Regions from separate parts of the Homo sapiens genome. Here region 2 is linked to region 1. The links are contacts of gene promoters, found by promoter capture Hi-C in blood cells and fetal thymus (Javierre and others, 2016). All regions are on one chromosome and are shown on one strand. The core of a region is centred on a gene start or on the middle of the fragment in contact, and the rest is flanking DNA. Distances in the headings are between cores, read along the strand shown. Region 1 holds the start of BPIFB4 (BPI fold containing family B member 4). Region 2 overlaps DNMT3B (DNA methyltransferase 3 beta).

What was found. Contacts are between HindIII fragments. The CHiCAGO score rates a contact against its expected background, and 5 or more counts as called.
Region 2: a fragment that was not itself captured here is called in contact with the fragment with the promoter of BPIFB4 in region 1 in 7 of 17 cell types (megakaryocytes, non-activated CD4 T cells, endothelial precursors and 4 more); the score reaches 8.0 in megakaryocytes.

Annotation. Positions count from the first base shown.
Region 1 is chr20:33,077,882-33,082,086 of GRCh38, reverse strand. It overlaps BPIFB4 (BPI fold containing family B member 4), which reads right to left and starts at 2,444. Exons shown (of 18, transcript NM_182519.3): 1 at 2,384-2,444; 2 at 1,511-1,618; 3 at 455-575. The coding sequence starts at 560. The HindIII fragment of the contact is 19,838 bases long and covers 1-2,705 here.
Region 2 is chr20:32,783,460-32,787,798 of GRCh38, reverse strand. DNMT3B (DNA methyltransferase 3 beta) reads right to left here. Exons shown (of 23, transcript NM_006892.4): 4 at 2,940-3,041; 5 at 1,172-1,297; 6 at 348-569. Among named protein-coding and RNA genes, the nearest start is that of DNMT3B, 23 kb to the right of the region's middle. RefSeq lists enhancers at 1-154, 155-826. The HindIII fragment of the contact is 3,406 bases long and covers 1,020-4,339 here.

The sequences.
Region 1 (4,205 bases), core at 1,195-3,694:
TCCCACTTTTGAGGGCCTTCTAAGTCCCAGGAGCTGTGCTAAGTTTTCAAAAGGTCATTTCATTTCATTCTCATATCAGTTCTCTGAGATAGAGACTATAATTACACCCATTTTACAGATAAAGAAACTGAGGCTCAGGGAACTCAAGTCATGAACTTAAGGTCACACAGTCAGGATTTGAACCCCACGAAGGCTGATCCAGGGCTCTTAATCATTGTTCTCTATTGCCTCTAAAGAATGAGCATAAAGTCACCAGTATGGTGCTTGGCACATAGTAGGTGCTCAGGAAATGGTAGTCAAAAGAAAAAGGAGAAACTAAGGCCCAGAGAGTAGAATTCACCCAGCCTCCCGATGTGAACTCTGCTAGCAGGAGGAGGTTCCTGGGTACTTCAGAGTTGGCAGAGCTGCCCTGCTCACCCCATGCCAACCCTCACCCCTTTGGGGCTGGACTCACCATTGCTCAACACATCTTTCGTCACCCTGAGGACCGTGTTTGTCTCGTGGCTGGTGCCACACACAGCCACCACAGACAGCGCAGCCACACACCAGGCCATCCACATGCTGGCACTGCTTCCCTGTGGAGGAGAAAGTGCAGATGCAGATGTGGCTGGGCGCCACCACCCTGGCCAGCAGGTAGCACTAGGCAGCCCCAGCCAAGAGTCATCTCAGGACCCTGGGACCCAGAGAGAGGGGAAACCAGCCAAGGTCACATACTAAGGCAGGGTCCAGAATTCCAGATACTACCTTTTGAGTTTTTCAAATTGAAATGAATCTGGTGACACAAAGCAGACCCATTAAACACACTGTTTCAGAGAATGGATGTCTAATTATCTCCCAAGATGGAATTGACAAATTGAGCATCAGGGAGATGGGTAATAGGGATTCCAACAAAAACACCAAACTGGGAGCTCGCAGGTTCTAAGGAACTCTCTCCAGCATCTACCCATCTACTCATCTACTCATTCCTCTACATCACTCACCCATCTACTCATCTACTCATTCTCCCCTTCGTATTTATTCTCCTATTCACCCATACATTCAACCTACTATCTTTCCATCTATCTATTACCCATCTGTCATGGAAACACCCAGCAAGCCATATATCTATCCATCCAACCAACCATCCATCCAACCAACCATCCATCCACTCATCAACTCATTCTCCTCCCTCTATTTATTAATCTGTCCACCCATCCCACCATCCATCCATCTTCCCATATATCTATCATCCATCTGTCATCCAAACAGCTGGCAAGCCATATATCCTCCTGCCCATCCATCTATCCAACCAACCATCCATCCACCCAGCTATCCATCCATCCATCCATTCATCTTTCCATCAGTTTATCTACTCATCAATGCATTCATCTAGCCACCCTTCCACACATCCAGCTCACCAGCAAACACTCTTCCCATCTCTTTGGAGGAGTCAGTTCTACACCACGTGGTTAATATTAATGGCTCTAGGTCAGAGATATCTGGGTCTTAATGCTTAGGAAAGGGACTTTACCTTTTTGAACTTCTGCTCCCAAATCACAAACAAGTTGTATCTCATACATAGTAGACACTCAATAAAGAGCAGCTATTGTTATTACTTTGGGACTGTTATTTCAGACCCCTAAGAAGTGGGTGAGGAATGTTATGAGATTGGGGAGGTGAAACATGCATTTTGGAACGAGCTGCATAGCCTCTGGGAAACTTTCTTTTGCTCCTTTTGTGCCCTCATCCACTTCTCTCACTCCATCAGCCCCGGCTACACATCCACCAACCTCAGAGAGTCAGCACAGGGCATGGCCTCTCATCTGAGCCAAGAAATTGTTGGTTTCAGCCACCTTTGTTTAGGCACACTCTCCTCTTTTTTCTGTCCCCATTTCTCTTGGACTTCACAGCGCCCCCAAATTCTTTCCCTACTCCTATCTGCTCCCAGAAGAATATTAGAGGCATTCATTTACACTAGAATATAAAGGACTACTATATGCAATAATTTTTTTCTGGCTTCCTCACCTCATCCTAACCTCACTTTCCAGAGAGCTGTGTTCAAAAAGGAATCACCCCTTTCAGTTAAAAAGATGGGCACCGATGGAAGATTTCTGGCATCAGCAAACAGCTGAGGAGTCTCCAGGAGGTAGCAAAGGCCCTCGGTACCCAACGTCCCTGGGAAAGATGAGTGCAGCTCTGCGCATGCATGTAATTGGCATAACCCAGGCCTTTTTGCTGATTCCCAAGAGGCTCTCCTGACTAGGCCCATGCTACAGACAAGACCCCTGAACTTGGAGAGGGGCCATCCTGATGGATCTCCAGGCTGGGACTCTCTCTCCTTATTACCTTCCCAGGCCTGTGCCTCCCCTGCCGGACACTGAGTAGACAAGGTGCGCCTCCTTACCCCTAGGAGGTCCCTGCCGCTGAGTCTTGAGAAGTCCTGTTCCCCAGCCCCTCTGCTTTTGGCTGAGTCTGGTCACAGATCAGTCTTATATAGCAGCCTGAGGCTGAGCCCAGACCCCAGAGAGGGAAACACTGTGTAATTACAAGAGACCGGAATTCAGATTTGCTCTGCAAATTGGGCATTGAGCCCCAAAACCATAAAGGTTTGCGGTTTGTGGCTAATTCCAAGACTTGCACTCAGCCCCAGATGGTGTCACATGAGCTGGGTTTTATCAGCCCTTGGGCTGGGCACATTCCCAGAGACCCCAGCTAGGCCTCAAGCTTGGGGAACTGGAATCACCCCCAGATGCATCTAGTTTCTAACTCTAAGGCAGGCACTAGCCATTCCAGATGATCTGGGTAGACAGGAGGTGCCCAGGCTGGACTCAGCATCAGGATGACCCAGGTTCAAACCCTGCTCAACCCCCAACTCACCGTATGACCTTGGGCCAGCCACTTCCCTCCTCTGAGCCTCACATTCTTTCCATCTGGCAAATGAGTATAATACCTGCCTCACAGGGCTGATTTTAGGACTAAAGGAGACGAATATGAATCCAGCTCCTCAAACTTGGGACTGGTGCACGAATGTGCATTTTTTTTATCTGAAAAATATTCCTCACTCATTTCTTAGGGGTCTGAAATAATAGTCCCAAAGTAATAACAATAGCTGCTGTTTATTGAGTGTTTACTATGTATGAGATACAACAAGGTTTTTCCCAACTATTTCCTCATGAAATTTTCATACCTATAGCAAAGGTGAAGGAAATGTACAGCGGACACACATGGTTGTCACGTTGTTCCCACCAACTATACCCACCATTTACATTCTTGTCATATTTGCATCCATCTGTTAGTCCATCTTTTATTTTTTATGCATTTGAAAGTTGCAGACATCAGTATACTACCACTAAACACTTCACCCTGCATGGCATTCAGATTCTTTTCTTTATATCTTTAAATACAGTGACATGCACAAATCTTAAATGTTCATTTGCTGAGTTTTGACCATTTTTTACGGTCATGCAGCCCACACTCCTATCACAATATAGAACATTTCCACCACCCCAGAATGTTCCGTCTGCCTTTTCCCAGTTGCACCCTCCAAAACCTGCTGGGACACAGCCCAGACCACTTCACTTGGCATCCAAGGCCTTCCGTACACACATCCCAGTCCTCTCTTCACACAGAGCTACTCATTCCTTCCATCCCCTCCTCATCACCCCCTGTGCTCCCTGCCTCTGGGCCTTTGCATGTGCAGTCCCTGCTGTCTACAAAGCCCTCTCCAGATTCTAAGGGTGAAAGGTAAGCAGCTGCAGGAAGCTTCCCCCAGCCCCTACAGTTCCTCTGGCCCATCCAGAGATCCCTGGGGCCCATAGTGAAGTGTTGTTTCTCCAGGCGAACCAGCTATGTGCCCCACTCCTAGGCCAGCACAGGCATAGATGCCAGTGTAACAAATGAACAAGTGAATGAATTAATTAACTCATCTTTCGCTCTCCACTGGACAAAGTGCTCCCTATCTTCCCACCCCATAGCCCCAACCCAGGTCCTACCTCCATGTTTAATCAATGCCACCTCCTCCCTGCTCCAACCCTGCCCGTCTGTGAATTCTGAGAGGCAGGAGACATTTCTGTCTCCACCAAGGCCTGCTTTCAAGTCAAACTGGGAATAAACGTGTTTTGCCCCTGACTCCCCAAGGAGATGCCTCCTCCTTCCTCCCTGGAGGCAGTGGGGACTCTAAGGCAGGCGTCATTGATATAAGTCCTGCCAAGCTCAACCGATGTCAC
Region 2 (4,339 bases), core at 1,473-3,972, 290 kb after region 1:
AAACAGCTTTATTGCTCACACAAAGCCTGTTTGGTGGTCTCTTCACACGGGCGTACATGAAATGTATAACGTACGCAGTTGCAGTCCTTACATAAATGTCATGTTGGGAAAAACCACAGTATTCACGTGGTAAATACTGGCATTTGACTTATGTCTGGGAGAGGATTAAGGTAAAGAAAGGTCCGTGGTGCATATGGAAGATACTTAGAATTCAAACATGTCAATTATTACAATTACGAAACTTCTAACAACTGTTGTCGCTCTGTTACCAACAGTAGCAGGTAACTGGTTTTTCCCCGTGTTCAGGGTCCTCAGTCACCCTGGGCAGGAGCCCCTCTCGGCCATACCTGATACTCTGAACTGTCTCCATCTCCACTGTCTGCCTCCACCTGCGGGGACTCCATGCCCCCCTGCTGGCTGTCCTGGGCTAGGCGGGCGTAGGGGGTACTGCTGCTCTGGGGCGTCCCATGTGTGTCCTCTGTGTCGTCTGTGAGGTCGATGGTAAGGTAAGAGCTGGGAGGGGACGGCCATGGCGTTCCTGCCGATGCTGTTGCCCGCCGTCTCAGGGACTGTGGACAGAAGGACACATAGTTTGGGCCAGAGCAAAGGATGTCGGTGACCAGAGACCAACGGCACCCCCATATGGCTCCTAGGCAAAAAGAAAGAGGAAAGACTGAAGTTAAAGAGAACAGAGACCGCTGAAGAAACTTTTCCAGGAACACGTATCCCTTAAGGGGGGAGAAAGTCATTGTAACTGTCCCAGAGACAGAAAGATGACAAAGGCACAAATGATGGGTAATGACGAGGGACTCTCAGAGAGTGAAATGTTGCCATACCCGCTAGGGTTGCCTCAAGACAGGTGAAGAAGACATGAGGGAGAAGACAGTTCTGGATGTCAGTGTTTTCTACCTTGTTTCCAAGTTAGAGCAAGAACCAAGTCAACAGGGAAAGCTTCCATTCCCAACAGAGTGTCATCTGAGATCAGACCAGGAGAGAAGCCAACAGGCTTACGGGAAGCTTACCCAGGAGAGAAAAGAAAAAGCAAGAACCTGAAAAGCAGTGTGAAAAAAGGACACAGATTATCTACCAGCCACAACCAGTAGTGCAGTGAGTGAGGCATATCTCCCAGTTAGAGACTGCGGGCAGGGGTCTGGGCATCTGGGGAACCAACCCTGGTAGCCGGGAACTCCACGGGGGACTCGTCCACATGGTTGCGGCCCTGCCGGCCTCGGGTGGAACGTGGGGAAGGCCTGTGCCTCTCCCGGCTGGAGACACTGTTGTTATTTCGAGTTCGGACCTAGAAGCAAGAGAGGACACTCACTGGGCCTTAGGTGACTGGAGGCCTGGGGTCTGGCGGGGCCAGAAGGATTAGGCCTTCAGGTGGCCAAGGAGACCTGGTAGCCAGCTTCAGGACAACTGGAAGTGAACAGGTGATGAGGTGGGACTCTGGACTGAGTCCAGCCAGAATTCCCCAGTTCTTGGAATAGAGGTGGTAGGGTGGCCAGCTAGGATGCCCGACAATTCCCAGCAGGTCCTGCTCTGCCTGTCACAGCAGACAGACATGGCCAGCTGAAATGGCACCTGCCAATTGGGATTGAAAAATAAAAATCTGGCCAAGCGCAGTGGCTCGCTCATGCCTGTGATCCCAGCACTTTGGGAGGCCAAGGCGGGCAGATCACTTGCAATCAGAAATTCAGGATCATCCTGGATAAAATGGTGAAACCCCATCTCTACTAAAAATGCAAAAATTAGCCAGGCATGGTGGTGGGTGCCTGTAGTCACAGCTACTCAGGAGGCTGAGGCAGGAGAATCACTTGGACCAGGGAGGCAGAGGTTGCAGTGTGCTGAGATCACGTCACTGCACTCCAGCCTGGGCAACACAGTGAGACTGCATCTCAAAAAAAAAGAAAAAAAAAGAAAGAAAGAAAGAAAGAAAAATTCGTGTTCACTCTAAAATAAACTTTTATGTCAAAGAAGCATAAGGCCAATTACTGGGTTCAGGAAGGCACCAGATCATCAAGATGGAATAGAATTCCTTAGGCTCCATGTTCATTGTCAAAAATGGCATGAATTTGGTTGTTGCAGAACCTGTGTCCAAATTATGCATAGAAGAGTTGATGTTTAACCTCAGTTAAGTTGCTGGAATCTTCTCTCATCTCCACAAAGGGGATGATACAGACCATATCCTGGGAAGGGAAGACTGTAACCCACACCTGGGATAGTAACTGTCAGTCTGGTCTCTAAAGGGCTGGGTGACCATAAGCAATAACTGCCTTCCCATTGCCATACCTCAAAACTCTGAGGCACAAAATCCACCCACAGAAATGGTGGACTCCCTAGGTCATTAGCAGCTGAGCCATCCACCCTGCAAACTCTATCACCCCTAGGCACCTCCAAGAGTGTTACAAGAAAGAACTTAAAAACCACCTGAAAGAAATGGCACATAGAGAAAACCTTCCAGCCGGGCGCAGTGGCTCACACCTGAAATCCCAGCACTTTAGGAGGCCAAGGTGGGTGGATCACCTGAGGTCAAGAGTTCGAGACCAGCCTGGCCAACATGGTAAAACTTCATCTCTACTGAAAATACAAAAACTGGCCGGGTGTGGTGGTAGGTGCGTGTAGTCCCAGCTACTTGGGAGGCTGTGGCAGGAGAATCACTTGGACCAAGGAGGCAGAGGTTGTTGCAGTGAGCTAAGATCACGCCATTGCACGCCAGCCTGGGCAACACAGTGAGACTCCGTCTCAGAAAAAAAAAAAGAAAAAAGAAAACCCTCCAACAATAGTCCAAGAGCCTTGCTTATATTTTCTAGTTTCAAAACATTTTTTCATCACTTTCTCTTAAAAGCTCCCCTAAGGAGCTATGCTATGTATGTAGCATGCTATGTATGCTATGTAGAGTGTTGGCCACAAGTGCTTTGGCTCGAGGTGTGGCTACTTACAGCTGGGCTTTCTGAACGAGTCCTGGTTTCCCGGAAGAGCTTTGGCATGACTGGGGTGTCAGAGCCATCCCCATCTTCCCCGTCGCCATCGCCTGTCAAGTCCTTTATAAGGAAACATGATGAACATGATGAAGACCCCAGGGTATCAGCAAGTCAAAGAAACAAGGCACCTGCAATATGAAAGACTGATCGCCTGTGCCTGGCAGGGAGACCGGGTCACTCATCACAACACACTGCATATGGGTGCAGACACAGACCAACCACGACAGATGCCCCGGAAGCAATGGCATGAAACCTGCACCATGTCATCAGGGCTTCCTCGTGCAGGCCTCACACCTCACACCAAAACCCAGCATAAGCCAAACACAAAAGCTGAAGCAGCGAGCAGCTAGGTCTGGCTGGAGTGTTAAGCACTTGCCTTCACTCACCAACTGTGTGGCTTTGAGTCCATTTCCCTCATTTTAAAATTGGAATAACAGTACTTCCCTCATAGCACAACAGGGTTACATCAAGAATCAAATAATATGCAGGGTGTGGTGGCTCATACCTGTAATCCCAACACTTTGGGAGTCTGGGGCAGACTGAGGTCACCTGAGGTCACCAGACCAGCCTGGCCAAGATGGTGAAACCCCATCTCTACTAAGAATACAAAAATTAGGCCAGGCGTGTAATCCCAACACTTTGGGAGGCCGACGCGGGTGGATCACCTGAGGTCAGGAGTTCAAGACCAGCCTGGCCAATATGGCGAAACCCTGTCTCTACTAAAAATACAAAAATTAGCAGGGCATGGTGGCATGTGCCTGTAATTCCAGCTACTCATACTCAGGAGGCTGAGGCAGGAGTACCGCTTAAACCTGGGAGGTGGAGGTTACAGCGAGCCGAGATCGCGCCACCGCACTCTAGCTTGGGGAACAAGAGTAAGACTCCATCTCAAAAAAAAAAAAAAATACAAATACAAATACAAAAGTTAGCTGGGCATGGTGGTGCACGCCTGTAAGCCCAGCTACTTGGGAGGCTGAGGCAGGAAAATTACTTGAACCTGGGAGGCGGAGGTTGCAGTGAGCCGAGATCGTGCCATTGCACTCCAGCCTGGGCGACAGACTGGAGACTCTGTCTCAAAACAAAACAAACAAACAAAAAGAAACGTGTGGGCAAGAGATTTCATTACTGTTTCTGGTAACTAGCTACCAGAAACAAAACAGCAGTGCTGAGCCTCTGATCCTGCAGCTGCCCTAATTCCTCCCAGGGCTTAGGTTCCCCACCTTCTGAGTCCCCTAAGTAGGTTGGCCACCACCAAGAGAATGGAAGCTGAGGGTGAGTTTTCATTGCCCAGGACTTTTATGACTGATACTGGCTCTGAGCAAAACCAACCCAATTGACAAACTCTACTAAGAATAATT